2 separate regions of the Homo sapiens genome follow, and region 2 is linked to region 1. Evidence: promoter capture Hi-C in 16 types of primary human blood cells and fetal thymus (Javierre and others, 2016). All regions are on one chromosome and are shown on one strand. The core of a region is centred on a gene start or on the middle of the fragment in contact, and the rest is flanking DNA. Distances in the headings are between cores, read along the strand shown.

What was found. The method cuts DNA at HindIII sites, captures the fragments that hold promoters and counts their contacts. A CHiCAGO score of 5 or more calls a contact.
Region 2: a contact is called between a fragment that was not itself captured here and the fragment with the promoter of LAMB3 in region 1, in 1 of 17 cell types (M1 macrophages). The highest score is 6.0, in M1 macrophages.

The regions. Positions count from the first base shown.
Region 1 is chr1:209,651,175-209,658,047 of GRCh38, forward strand. LAMB3 (laminin subunit beta 3) reads right to left here and starts at 1,251. Exons shown (of 23, transcript NM_000228.3): 1 at 1,195-1,251. RefSeq lists enhancers at 753-1,952, 5,522-6,721, 6,182-6,251. The HindIII fragment of the contact is 2,819 bases long and covers 1-1,878 here.
Region 2 is chr1:210,345,389-210,352,261 of GRCh38, forward strand. It overlaps HHAT (hedgehog acyltransferase), which reads left to right. Exons shown (of 12, transcript NM_018194.6): 2 at 3,545-3,678. The coding sequence starts at 3,588. Among named protein-coding and RNA genes, the nearest start is that of HHAT, 20 kb to the left of the region's middle. The HindIII fragment of the contact is 279 bases long and covers 3,411-3,689 here.

The DNA.
Region 1 (6,873 bases), core at 1-2,500:
ATGTGACTCACAGGGTGCCCTGGGAAAATCCCATCCCTTCCCAGACTCCAGCTTCCTCCTCTAAAATGGATGGGAAGGAGTGTGGACCCTGCCCTACCCCACACAGCCGTAAGGACAACGTGGGGAGCAGGAAAAGGCTGGACCCTTTGCAGGAGAAAAGCTGTAGAAAGGGCCAAGACCTAGTTCCAGCCCCAAGAGAGAGGGCTGGCTTTTCTCAGGGCCTAGACCAGCAGCCTCAACCCAGCCCCGCCCAAAGTGAATGAGTCAGAGTGGCTGACGGCCTGGAGGCAAACCTTCTCCTGTCACGGGCATGGCCTCCAATACCATTCAGGGCCACTTTGAGTTTGAGGCTCTGTGCCCACAATTCTGGGATGCAACAGGGAGAGATGTATGGCTGTCTTTAACAAGTGAGTGAGGGTTTCTTCTGAAAGGGAAGCAACCCAAAATGTCTTCAATGATGGGCTGGGGCTCGACAAGAGGGGTGGGGCTGGGAGGCCACAAAGCAGGGATTCTGAAGGAGGCTGGGGAAGGATGCTCGAAAGCCACCGTGGGGTCCCAGAGGCAGGCCTGCCTTGTGGAAACATGCCCCACCCTTGCTCATGCAGTGACCCTTCTGCCTTGAATTGGATGTTCACTCTGTTCCAATGACAGCCACAAACTCTTTTGGCTGGGGTGGAGGGCTGGGGGCTTGGCAAGGCAGGGGCGGGGGGGGAAATTGAGGACATTTCTGGCATCTTTAAATTATAGATCCTAATGCTTCAAAATCATTCCTTCCAATCCCTCTCCTAAAAGAGTCATGGGCCCAGGGAGGGAACATGTGGCCTGGGGTCCCACAGCTAACGATGGCCTAAGAGAGACCCATCTTCTGACTTTCATCCAGTGCTTTCTCAGCTTTCCCACCCCTGACTGAAAATCCCCCTGCAAGTAGGCATTCTGAGCCAGGCCAGCCCACCCTTCTCACTTCTCTTTTGTGCTCAACCCCGGATCTGAACCTGCTTTCTTCTAAGCCACTGAGGTGCTTATCAAATGTGAAAAAGAAATCAAAACTGTAGCAGACATTTTAACCTAGCTCACCTGAGTGAGCTCCCAGGAAGAGGAATAAATCAGGCCCTGAAACCAGGCCCCAGGCATCCAGAGATACAGTCCTCCTCCCGCATCCGGCCCGCACCAGGCAGGTAAAGACAGGTAACATACCTTGCTGTGTGTTCTGCCGTTCTTTCTCCAGATCGCCTGAAAGCTCCTCTTGAATGTGGGGGTCTCCCCTCCCGGCTCCAGGTTTTTAAACAACAGCCTCACCTCTGGAGACTCCCTGGCTGGGTGTAGCCCCACCGCAGGGCGGGTCTCAGGAATCTGGCAGCCGTCACACCCATCTGTCGTCACTGCACCCCCACCTCCCAGGACGGGACTGGGCAAGTGGGTTGGTCGGTCCGTCCCAGAGTTCTTGTAGTGAGCTCCACAATGCCCACCTGCCTGTGGGGGCTGCAAGGGGCCCCTCAAACAGAAAGCACAAGGCACATGTAAGTGATCATCAGAGACCAGAATTCACAGGGTGGGGAAGGGCCCTTGCATTTGTGCCAGGCAATGAACTCAGCATTTTCCCAAAGCCAGCAGGGGTCAGCTTCTTCTTGTGACCTGGACCACCCCAGACAGAAGATCAGGCAGAGAACACAAAGATTAGGGCTTATATAGAGAGTTAAAGCTCCAGACATATCACCGGGCTGGAAGGTGAGAAGACTCAAACATCCAGGACCCTGGAAAGCACCATTCCCCTCCCCAGTGAAAAAAAAAATGAAAAATCCCAGCTTCTTGGGGCATTTGGAGGATCCTTAAAAGGCAAGGTTCATCAGGAAGGATTCAAAGCTCAACTCATCCAAGGAAAGCTTAAGAGAAATGAGCAGAGTAACTAAATGGCTCGCCTCCAGCTCCCTCCACAGGGTTGGCAGGGAGCCCTGGGACAGGTAGCTGCCTGTGAGTCACTCCTCCCACCTGTGGGGAGGGTTAGTCTCCTAGCCCCTCCCTCCCTAGGCAGGAATGCCCGCCTGGAGGGCCAGAAAACAGACCTGACCACAAGTGGTGGAAGGAAAGGCTGAAGCATAGCTTGACTGACAAAGTCAAAACAGACTTTCCCTGGCCTCCTGCCAGGCCTGAGAACACAGCTTCTTTTGTGGGCTCCTTGCTCAGGGATCCTGGGCTTCCAGCCACTGTAAATGGAAGTGGCAGGTCCAAATTGAGAGGCTGGTCTCACAGGACACTCTTTCCCCCAGGTTAGGGTCAGAGAGCTTTTAGGGAAACCTGGAGGGTCAGCCAGTCCATATCTTGGCCCTGGAGAGCCTGCACTGGCACCGTTTTGGAATGCTAGGACCTCAAAGCTACTATTTAAAGGAGCTTCTTAACTACGATTCCACTTTGTTAGTGTCTCCTAAACAGAAAGTTCTCCACCATTGGAGGGTTATGTCCAAGAAATTGGCTTGAAGACCCTTAAGGGGGAAATGTAGAATTTTGTGGATTAAATTGGGCATTTCTAACCCTCAGATTCGAATTAAGCATAAGTTCAGGTAGGCAGAAGAAATAGTGTAATTAGCAAGTGGGCAGTGAGTTGTTGATGTAAGTTGATGCATAATTGATAGTCCAATAAATGTTAGAGTCTTGCCCCCTGTAAGCATTCCAGTGAAATCTAGCTCAACTCAGCAAGTAAGGTCAGTAGAAGCAGTGTCCCTTCAACACAGAGAGACCTCCCTCAAGTCCCCCACCGAGAAAGGTCAGCTCTGACTCTGACACACCTGTGTTTTCAGTTCTCCCACCTGGTGGTCTCTTTCTCTCCACTTCCCCAACTCCCTGAACTCAGAGCGCTCATGAAACTTTCGCCCTCTGCCCATCACCAGAGGATGTGACAAAGAACTCATTAATAATTAACTCAGCAGAAGAGAGCAGGTGTTGCAATCCCAGATCCTCAGAGGAGAAAAGGCAGGGCAGGTGTGCGGTGGGCCTCACCATGAGTAGCTGGGGCCCCTTAAATCCTCCTCCTCCTCCCTTTATCTGAGGCCATGAGCCCAGGTAAATACACATTCGGTGTCTCAGACTTCACAGGCTTGGGCAGGTCCTGGAGTGGTTTGGCTTCGCAGGAGGGACATGCCAATTGCTGTGCTTGGCTCTCCCCTACACTCCCGGCAAAGTCCAGGAAGCTGTTTATGCAGACCCCCAAGAGCAGCCCAGCCAGCCTCACTCCTGAGGGACACTGATCATTTCCAAGTGGGGATCCAGTCCCCCAAGAACTCCAGGGCTCCAGGCACAAGCTCTGGAGCTTCAGAACCCAATTTGTTCAGTCAAGTAGCCTAAAATAGAGCCTGAGGCCAGATCAGGGTCCAGCTAAGATTAAAGGGGTGTGGTACTGTGGCTGGAGCCCCTCAGCCTCCCCTGTGTGCACACCTTTCCTCTCTCCCTGCGCCCATCCTCCTACAACAGAGCACTTATCTGCCCTAGAGCCTTGACTTATTAGAATGTGTGCTCAGGAAAGTGGCTAGTGAAGTCATCCCAGACTTCAGTATCTTTCAAACCTCATCACTCCATCAGCAAATTCGGTCAGCTCTGCCTTCCAATAATAATCAGAATCTACTTCTTCCCTCCTGGCCTGAGCCTCTTTTCCTGGGACGTCTGCAACAGCCTCCTCACTGATATACAGTCAAGTCCCAACACAGCAGGTTATGCACCCCGAGCTCAGAATCTTCACATGCCCCTATCCCACTCAGGGCCAAGGCCAGAGCTTTTTCAGAGTCTAGGGGACCCTACACCACCTTCCTCCCATTACTCTTCACCTCTACTACAATGGCCTCTATCCCTGTCTTAGCTCAGGCTTAGGGCTTTGGCTCCAGCTGCTTCTGCTGCCTGGAACGGTCTTGCCCCTGGATATCTACAAAGCTAACTCTCTGACCTCTTTCAAAGTCTTTGTTCAGATCCTAACTTCTCAATGAGGCCTATCCTAAACACACTATTAAAATTACAGCCAACTTCCCTGCCCCATCCCTGTCCCCCATCCTAACACTCCTAACCCCACCTACCCTATATTTTGGTGAGTTATTTATTTACTTATTTGGTAGGGGGGCATCATGTACCAGCTTCTAACCAACTATATAATTTATCTGCTTATGTTTATTTTCTGTCTCTTCCCAACTAGAATGTAATATCCAAGAAGGCAGAGATTTCTATCTTATTCACTACTGTTTTCCAAGTGCCTGGCACATAGTAGGTGCTCAATACTTGTGGAATGAATGGATCCACACTAAAGTACAAACAATTGATACAGTTCAATGCATCCCCTGTGCCGTTGATGTGTAGTTGCATTCTCAGAGGGGACAATCCAGGCTTTGGGCACTGGGATGGATTACTAATAGTGGAAATTCCTGTATCAGCCAGAGTGCGGAGGTCTTTTTTGAGGCACCTATCTCCAATTACAGAAATGTCACCATATTGACAGAGGCAGTCTCCTTCTTTGCCTGCTTCTCAGTCATTCCTGGCAATGTCTCTGACAGGGTGTGGGGGTGGCATTATAAGCTACTGTGTCTATTATCCATCTGTCAGGCTCAAACCGTCCAAGTCGCTAGGGAGATCAGCCAAGATCTGATCAATCAGAGATCAAGGGATAGGGAACAAAGGAAGGAGAAAAGGAGGAAGAAAAGGAGAGAGAAGAGGTTCAGGGGGCATAGGAGAACCTGGTCCAGGCTGTGACTCTCAGGTGTTGGAGGAAGGGGCACCAGGTGACTCAAGCTCAGGCCACACCTGAATACAGTGAATCATGGCTGAGTCCTCGTCTGTGGGACAGGGTGGACTCCAGGAACGGCCCTGGGGATTTGCCATGTGACTAAAGCTTGCGTTGCCCTGCACTACAACACAACTGCTCAGCTGTCCAGACAACTGGTCACACTCTTCTCTGTGCCTCCCCAGGAACCAGGGAGAGAAAGTGGGCCTGGTGTGTTACGGAGGCACAGATAGGAGCCCAGCCTCAGGAGAGGGGAGGCTAAGCAGGACAGAAGTCGCCTGTCATGAGTGACTCTTCCATAGCCCTTCTCCTCTCCCCACCCTCACCTATCCAACCTGAATGTTTACCCAGTGGACAACTGTGCATGCAGCTTGAGCCCGAGGACTGGGAGCAATCAGGCAATCGGCCTAAAATCACTACAGCTGATATCTGCTGAGTGCTTGCTGTGCCCAGGCACTGTTCTGAGCCCTTTGCATGTATCCACTCACTTAATACCCACCACAACTCTGTGGGGATAGACAATTATCTTTATCTTGCAGACAAGGAAAATGAGGCACATTTTCGATAACTTGGCCTTGGCTAGTAACTGGGGATTTGAGCCCATGCCATTTTGCTCCAGCACGCATATTCTTAACCATTACACAGGGCCAAAGATGGGCCATATCACCTGAACTCCCAGAGTGCACCCTGGCTAATCCTTGGCCAGAGTTCACCAGACTCTGGACCTCATGTCTCCCAATGTCTAAAAACTCCTCTTTGTTGGCCAGGCGCCGTAGCTCACGCCTGTAATCCCAGTACTTTGGGAGGCCAAGGTGGTTGGATAACTTGAGGTCAGGAGTTCGAAACCAGCCTGGCCAACGTGGTGTAACCCCGTCTCTACTAAAAATACAAAAATTAGCTGGGCATGGTTGTGGGTGCCTATAATCCCAGCTACTCGGGAGGCTGAGGCAGGAGAATCGCTTGAACCCAGGAGATGGAGGTTGCAGTGAGCCGAGATTGGGCCACTGCACTCCTGCCTGGGCAACAGAGTGAGACCCTGTCTTAAAACAACAACAACAACAAAAAACCTCCTCTTTGTGCCCTTGTTCCAAACCTAGGAGCACTGATACTGTCTAGGGGCTCCAGGAGTGACACTGATGCTGTAGAGACATCTAGAACAAACCCCACCAGGTGCTACCTCCTTATTTGTTTTCCTTATTGACAACCTCTCTTCTATGGGCACAGATGGAGAAGGTGCTGGCCTCCAGTTCTTCCATCTCAGAGGCTCCAGCACATACCAGCAGGGTTTCCTCCTTCATACCAACAGGGGTGGCTCTGACTAAGGACAGGAGCACGCCAGGAGGCGTGGACAGAAGGTGACCGCAACATTCTGGTGAGCTGACAAGGTGAAGCAGAGGACGTGACGAGAGGATGACACAACTTCCCCTTTGCCAAAGGAAGGAGATCCCCTGCCCTGAGGTCAAGAGCCTGGGCCACCTCACAGGCTACAGCTCCTTCTGCTCTGTCTCCCAGTGTGCCCTCCAAATGGCCCAGCCCTCCTGAGGGGTACAGCCCAGTACAGCCTACAGCCTGGTGGAGCCATATGCTGGCCCATGGCTGGCTGGCTCCCAGAGAAGACAGAAGAATCTTTTCATTCTTACCACCTCCATCCCCTCCCATATTTCCTGACATTCCTCTGGCAGACAGGCTGGCCCATCGCCACACCCCCTCCTCTAACCCCAGTCACCTCTGTCTCTATTCTGTGATTCTATTTGGTCATTGACCTCTGGGGATTAGGTTATTGGGATCTAAGTCCGACCTTTATGACCTTTGGATAACATTTGCCATGTGTAGTTGGCCATGTGGCCATGGTCCAGCCTCCATGAGAGGAGAGAGACATACAGCTGTCTGAAGGGGCACATAGCCACGTGGCATGGTGGGTCTGACAGGTCGGGAGCTTCTGGGGAAGAAGAAGGGAAAGCAATGGCTGAGAGCGAGCTGGGGCTTTTGTGTCCTGAAATCTGCTCTTGAAGCTCTCACAGGGCTGCCCCACAGGACTTTCAAATTCTAAATATGATCCCTGAAAGGGCTACTAGACAGACAAACTAAGTGTCCTAACACGTAGTTTAAATTGGCATTAG
Region 2 (6,873 bases), core at 2,300-4,799, 700 kb after region 1:
CTAATTGTAAATGTTTTGAACTGCATGGTGGCAGGAGGTGCTCCTTATAATTTTTGCTTTGCAAACATTTTATTCCTTGGTTTAACCGACCACCATCACAACTGCCATCACTTGCTGATTCACCAAACTTGGGTAAATAATGATCTTACCTGTGCTTATTAATCTTTAAGTGTATGTGTATAGCTCTTGTTTATTTCAGTGTTTACTATTAGAAGTGTTTTGGTCTTTATTTAGATGTATGATGTTTTTGTGACCAGAAATATGCAGTAGGAACTTACTTTTTGCTTATATCAATTAGCCTATTGTAAAATTAGTAGCATTATACATTGTTTTGTTTAAAGTTACAATTTCCAAGACCCTACTGGTGATGTTCAGTAAGGACTCACTGTACAATCCAGCTAAGAGCAGCACTAAGCTGGGTGCAGTGGCTCACGCCTGTAATCCTAGCACTTTGGGAGGCCACGGTGGGCGGATCTCCTGAGCTTAGGAGTTTGAGACCAACCTGGGCAACAACAACAATAAAAAACTAGCCTGGCATTGTGGTGCATGCCTGTAATCCCAGCTACTCAGGAGGCTGAGGCAGGAGAATTGCTTGAGCCTGGGAAGTTGAGGCTGCAGCGAGCTGAGATCATGCCACTGCACTCCTGCTTGGGCAACAGAGCAAGACCCTGTCTCCAGGAAGAAAAAAAAAAAAAAAGCAGCACCAAAATGAAAAATTATTAAACCGAATTTTCTAGTTCCCTGAGGATTAAATCCTTAATGCAGGAGGATTGTCTCAGATAGAATGTCCCTGAAAAGCATCTAATGGCAGGCCTTCTAAAACTTTCATTCAGTCTACAAGATCATTTGTGTTCAAATTTCAGTCGCCCAATTAGGAGATCAGCTTTTTGCTAATCAGATTCTTCATGAGGCAAAGAGGTCATCCGATGTAATACCAACATCTTTTGACAGGCGAGACATTAAATTATAAGCCAAGAAGTTAAAATTACCTTCCCACTAAAGGGAAGACTACCAAATTCCTGAAAAGTTCCAGAAAGGAGTCTTGTTATTCTAAAGATGAAAGTATTTAAAAATAAATTGTGAATAGAAATGGATAAAGCTAGAAGCAGTTCTGAAAAATAGTAAGGAACTTGAGAAAGTGTTGTTGAAATACTAGGGCTTAGGCTTGTGTTTTAAAGCATGAATGATTGCTTCTGGATCTCTTAGGTTGCAGGAAAAGTCCAGACCAAACTTTCTGGGTGACTTTTAGGTAACGAAATGGGGCACTCTGGGTGCAAGACTGCTTATTTCTGAAATCGTGGTTTATCAAGGCTGAAGTTTATTTCCCTTCCTGCTCTGTCTCCCAGTGGTCTGAAGAAAGGAGTTTGTGTGTGCGGCAGATTCTAAGCCAGGCTCTAAGTCTGAGTAACTGTACACTGGCATTAATGGGATTGGCCATGGCAGAGTGGAGGGGCAGGGGCCTGGGTCCAAAGACTTGGCTTTGAGCCTTGGCTCAGTTATTTACTTATTTGTTTACTCACATATTTAGACAAAAATTGTACATATTTATGGTGTACAATGTGATGTCTAGCTATACATTGTGAGATGATTAAATCAAGGTAATTAACATACCCATCACCTTACCTGCTTATCATTTTATGGTGAGAACATTTAAGATCTACTCTTAGCACTTTTCAAGAATATAATACATTATTGTTAACTATAATCACCATGCTGTATAATAGATCCTCAGAATTTATTCATCCTGTCCAACATCTTTTAACCAACATCTTCCCCACTTCCCCCGCCCCAGCCCCTGGCAACCACTTCTGTGAGTTTGACTTTTTTTAGGTTTCACATATAAGTGAGATCATGCAGTATTTGCTTTTTTGCTCTGGCTCAGTTATTTCTGGCTCTGTGACCTCATCACATTTGTCATCTATAAAATGCCTACCTCCCCTGTTCCACTTCCACCTACTTCACCAGGCTGTTGTGAAAACAAAATGAGATAATGTGTGAATTCTGGGGTTTGGCATGACTGTCACATGTTAGAAGTACTTGGTGGGGTTGGTGGGAGGTGCTGCTTAAAATTTTGCTCTTATTTTGGCATCCACAATGAGACATACTTGAGAGGTTTAAATAAAGCAGTAAAGGCCATAAATGCGTTTAAATTTAGTGAACTCTTTGTTACTTGGAACATTTGGAATCATTTAATTTGCTGAATTTTAGGACCTAACTTTCCTATACCTTCTCTATTACTTAGAGTATAGTCATGGCTGCCATGATGGAGAGATCTAGAATAGGAGAGGCTTAAACAACCTAGAAATGCATTTCTCTTTCCTGTAACAGTCTAGATCTAAGTAGTCTGGGGCACTTTGGGGCTTGGGGGTGGTACCTGGATTTGGGGACTGAGAGGCCTCTGTCTTGTCCATGTGGCTTTCACCTCTTCATCCACGGAGGCTGTTCCAATTCTGTTCAACAGGAAAGGGAGGGAAAGAAAGAGATGGCCACAGCCATGTCCCTTCACTCACACCCTTTTGAATGGAGCTATTCAGGTGTCCACACTTAGCTACAGTGTAGTGTTGGTGTCCAGAGGAAATTTTAATTGATGTGTAAGAAGAGAGACTGAATTCTGAAAAGGGGTAGTGAGGGGCGGTGGGTAACAAGCAGTGTCTGTCACAGATGTCTGTGATTATGTCATTAACTGCCCTTTAAGAAATGTACAGATGAGGCCTGGCACAGTGGCTTGTGCCTATAAACCCAGCTACTCAGGAGGCTGAGGTGGGAGGATCACTTGAGGCCAGGAAATCAAGATCAGCCTGGGAAACATAGACCCTGTCTCCAAAAATACATAAATAAAGTGCATAGATGCATGGCAGACAGCTGATTTTAAGTTTTTATTTTATTATTGCTTTTAGAGAGGGGATCTGGCTATGTTGCCCAGGCTGGTCTCGAACTCCTGGCCTCAAGTGATCCTCCCATCTTGGCCTCCCAAAGTGTTAGGATTACAGGCATGAGCCACCATGCCTGGCCTATAGTATGATACTTGAAAGGGACAACAAGGATGGTGAACCTGTTGATTTAGAGGTTTGTATACTGTTTGTGCTTTTCAGACTTTTTGAAGCCATTTATTATTCACAGAGCACCTGGTAGTCCCTTCTTGCTACATCCCAGGCACTGTGCTAGGGGCTGGTGAGTCAGAGATCATGGTCCCTGCTATCTGAGGGTCCACTCCACAGAAGAGACAGGCATATTATGCAATGGGTAGAGAACTGTCTGATGTATACTCTGATGGGAGACTGTGGGAACTCCTAGGAAAAGACCTGACCCCTTTGACAGGCAGGATGCACATGTGTGGTGTATGTGTGCGTGTGTGTGTGTGTGTGTGTGTGTGTTGGATGCAGGATGGAGTAAGTTCACAGGGAGGAGGAAGCTTGATTGGGGTTATGTCTGTATCACCTTGAATAGTGATGGGTCTCCGGGAGTGTGAACTAACTGAATTGATGTTTAGATGCTGTTCTCTAGTGTCATGTTCATGGCTTAAAGTTTTGTCTCTGTTTCTCAGAAACTCTCAGCGTAGGCATCGGGAACCTTCGTGCCAAGGAGCCATGCTGCCCCGATGGGAACTGGCACTTTACCTACTTGCCTCACTAGGCTTCCACTTCTATTCCTTCTATGAAGTTTACAAAGTCTCCAGAGGTAAGGCCCCAAGCTTTTCAGACCTCCTATCAAACAAGGAAACTCCTGTCAAAAAAAGGAGCAGAGGTGGAAGATTCAAGAAGATGATCCAATAGTGTCAAGATGATGTGGGCCTTGATTTGCTTCCCCATGTCTTGGATAGTTTGAATCAGTGACCTGAGTCCATTGAGTTTTCTACCCTAAACCTAGGTCTTTTAGGTGATGCTGTGGCTTGTCTTCTATAATTGGTGGGTTTGATTCAAAAGCTATTGAAGGCCGTGGAGGGGATTTGCGTTCAGAATTCAAAGTAAACTCTTAAATTTCTCTTTCATCATTACTCCTCTGAGACATATTAGATCTGGGTTCGTTTTGTCTTCTTCTGTCATTTTTAGTGTTGCCTTTGTCTGAGTGTTGGAGATAAATCATCATCAGGTCACATTCCAGCCCAAAGGAAGGGGAATGGGGGCCCTCCTTTATTTTAGCGGCAGTTTGGCAAGGAGCACTAGTCACTCCTGCTCACACCCAACTGGCCAGCACTGAGTCCCACGGGCACAGCTGGGAGGCTGGGAAATAGTCTTTAGGTTGGTGGCTATGTGCTACCTAAAACTTTTTTTTTTTTTTTTTGAGACCTAGTTTCGCTCTTGTCGCCCAGGCTAGAGCAATGGTACCATCTCGGCTCACTGCAACCTCTGCCTTCTGGATTCAAGCAATTGTCCTACCTCAGCCTCCTGAGTAGCTGAGATTTCAGGTGCCCACCACCACGCCTGGCTAATTTTTGTATTTTTAGTAGAGACGTGGTTTCACCATGTTGGCCAGGCTGATCTCAAACTCCTGACCTCAGGTGATCCTCCTGCCTCAGCCTCCCAAAGTGCTGGGATTACAGGCGTGAGCCACTGCACCCTGTAGCTGGGACTACAGGAGTGCACCACCATGCCTGGCTTTAAAACTACTTTTAAAAAATAAAGTATATTGAAAATGGGAGGTGTCTATTCTTACACCAATACCATAATGTCTTGATTACCGTAGCTTTACATTAAGTCTTGAAGTTGGATAGAAGTCTTCTAACTGTTATTTGTGTTGTCTATTCTGGGTCTTTTGCCTGTCTGTATAAACTTTAGAGTCAATTTGTTGATATCTACAAAATAACTTTAGCCATAAAATAAAGATGTTTATAGCAGCTTTATTCATAATTGCTAAAAATTGGAAGCAATCAAGATGTCCTTAAGCAGCAAATGGACTAATAAACTGTGGTACATTCGGACAATGGAATTTGCCAGGATTTTCATTGTGGTTGCATTGAATCTATAGATTAAGTTGGGAAGAACTGACATCTTGACAATATTGAGTCTTCCTATCCATGAATATGGACTATTTCTCCATTTATTTAGTTCTTTGATTTCTTTCATGAGAGTTTTATTGTTTTCCTGATATAGATCTTATACATATTTTGTTAGATTTATAGCTCAGTATTTCATTTTTTGGGTGACAATGTAAATGATATTGTTTTAAATTTCAAATTCTACTTATTTCATTGCTGATATATAGGAAAGCAATTGATTTTGTTATAGCAATCTTGTTATTATAGCTTATTAATTCCAGGAGTTTTTCTGTCAGTTCTTTCAGATTTTCTACATAGGTAATCATGGCGTCTGCGAAGATGATTTTCTTTCTTTCTTTTCAATCTTATATACCTTTTCTTTTTTGTTGTTGTTGTATTGCATTAATTAGGGTTTCCAGTACAATGTTGAAAAAGAGATGAGAGGGCTTATCCTTGCCTTATTCCTAATTTAACTGGGGAAACTTCTGGTTTCTCACCATTAAGTATGACATTAGCTGTGGGTTTTTTATGGATGCTTTTTATCTAGTTAAGGAAGTTCCCCTCTATTCCTAGTTTTCTGAGAGCTTTTGTTATGAATGACTGTATTAGTTAGGGTTCTCCAGGGAAATAGAATCAATAGGCTACATATAGATATAAAAGGAGATTTATTACAAGGAATTGGCCCACACAATTATAGAGGCTGAGAAGTTCCATGATCTTCTGTCTGCAAGCTGTAGACCTGTGAAAGCCAGTGGTGCAATTCAGTTCAAGTCCAAAGGCCTGAGAACTGGAGTAGCCTATGATGTAAATCCCAGTCTGAGGGCAGGAGAGGATGAGCTGAGATGGTCTAGCTCAAGCAGTAGCCAGAAATAAGAGTGAATTCTTCCTTCCTCCTCCTTTTGTTCTATTTAGACCCTCAATGGATTGGATGGTGCCCACCTGCATTAAAGAGGGCAATCTACTGTATCTGATTCAAATGCTTATCTCATCAAGAAACACCCTCACAGACACCTAGAAATAGTGTTTAATCTGGGCACTCTTTGGCCTGGTCAAGTTGACACATAGCACTAACCAACACAATGGATGTTGGATTTTGTCAAGTGTTCTTTCTGCATCTCTTGATCAGTTTATTCTTCTTTAGCCTGGTGATGTGTTGGATTACATGATTTTTGTGTTCTGTGAGATTTTGACTTTAATATACCTGGACTGGACTCAGCTGGCATTTCTCCTGTTTCATGTATTGTCAGCTGGGGCTGCAGTCATCTGGTGGCTCGATTGGGCTCACTCATCCAGGGTGGCTCACTCACGTGGCTGGCAGTTGGTGCTGGCTTTCAGCTGAGAGCTCAGCTGGGGACTGTCAAGTGGAGTACTATGGTCCTCTCTAAATGGCTTCATGTGGCTTACATTTCTTACATTTATTACAGGGCAGCTGGGTTCCAGCTGTTGCACGTGCAGCCTGGGAAGTTATACAGGTCACTTCTGCCTCATTTATTGGTCAAAGCAAATCACAGGGCCAGTCCAGATTGAAGGGAAGGAAAGACTGCACCTTTTTACAGGTGGAGCAGCATGTAGAGGAAGAGTCTGATGGAGCCACCTCTGGAGTTTCTCTCTTCTATAATGGGTGTTATACTTCTTTACCCACATGAGGACACTGAGGCTCAAAAGTATTACTTGTCCAAGGTCATATATTTAATAATAGAAATAATAGAGCTGAAGCTTAAACCTAAGACTTTACAACTCTACTTCTTGTGTTGTGATAGCTTCTGGGAACGGGGCGAGGGGTTCCTTTGCGGATAGTACAAAACTTTTCTGCACCTTAACCTGTCCAGATGCTGTCATGCTGACCACCTCCTAGCCTGAAGCTTCTTTAATCCTTAATGCCTTTCCTTTTATTGTCA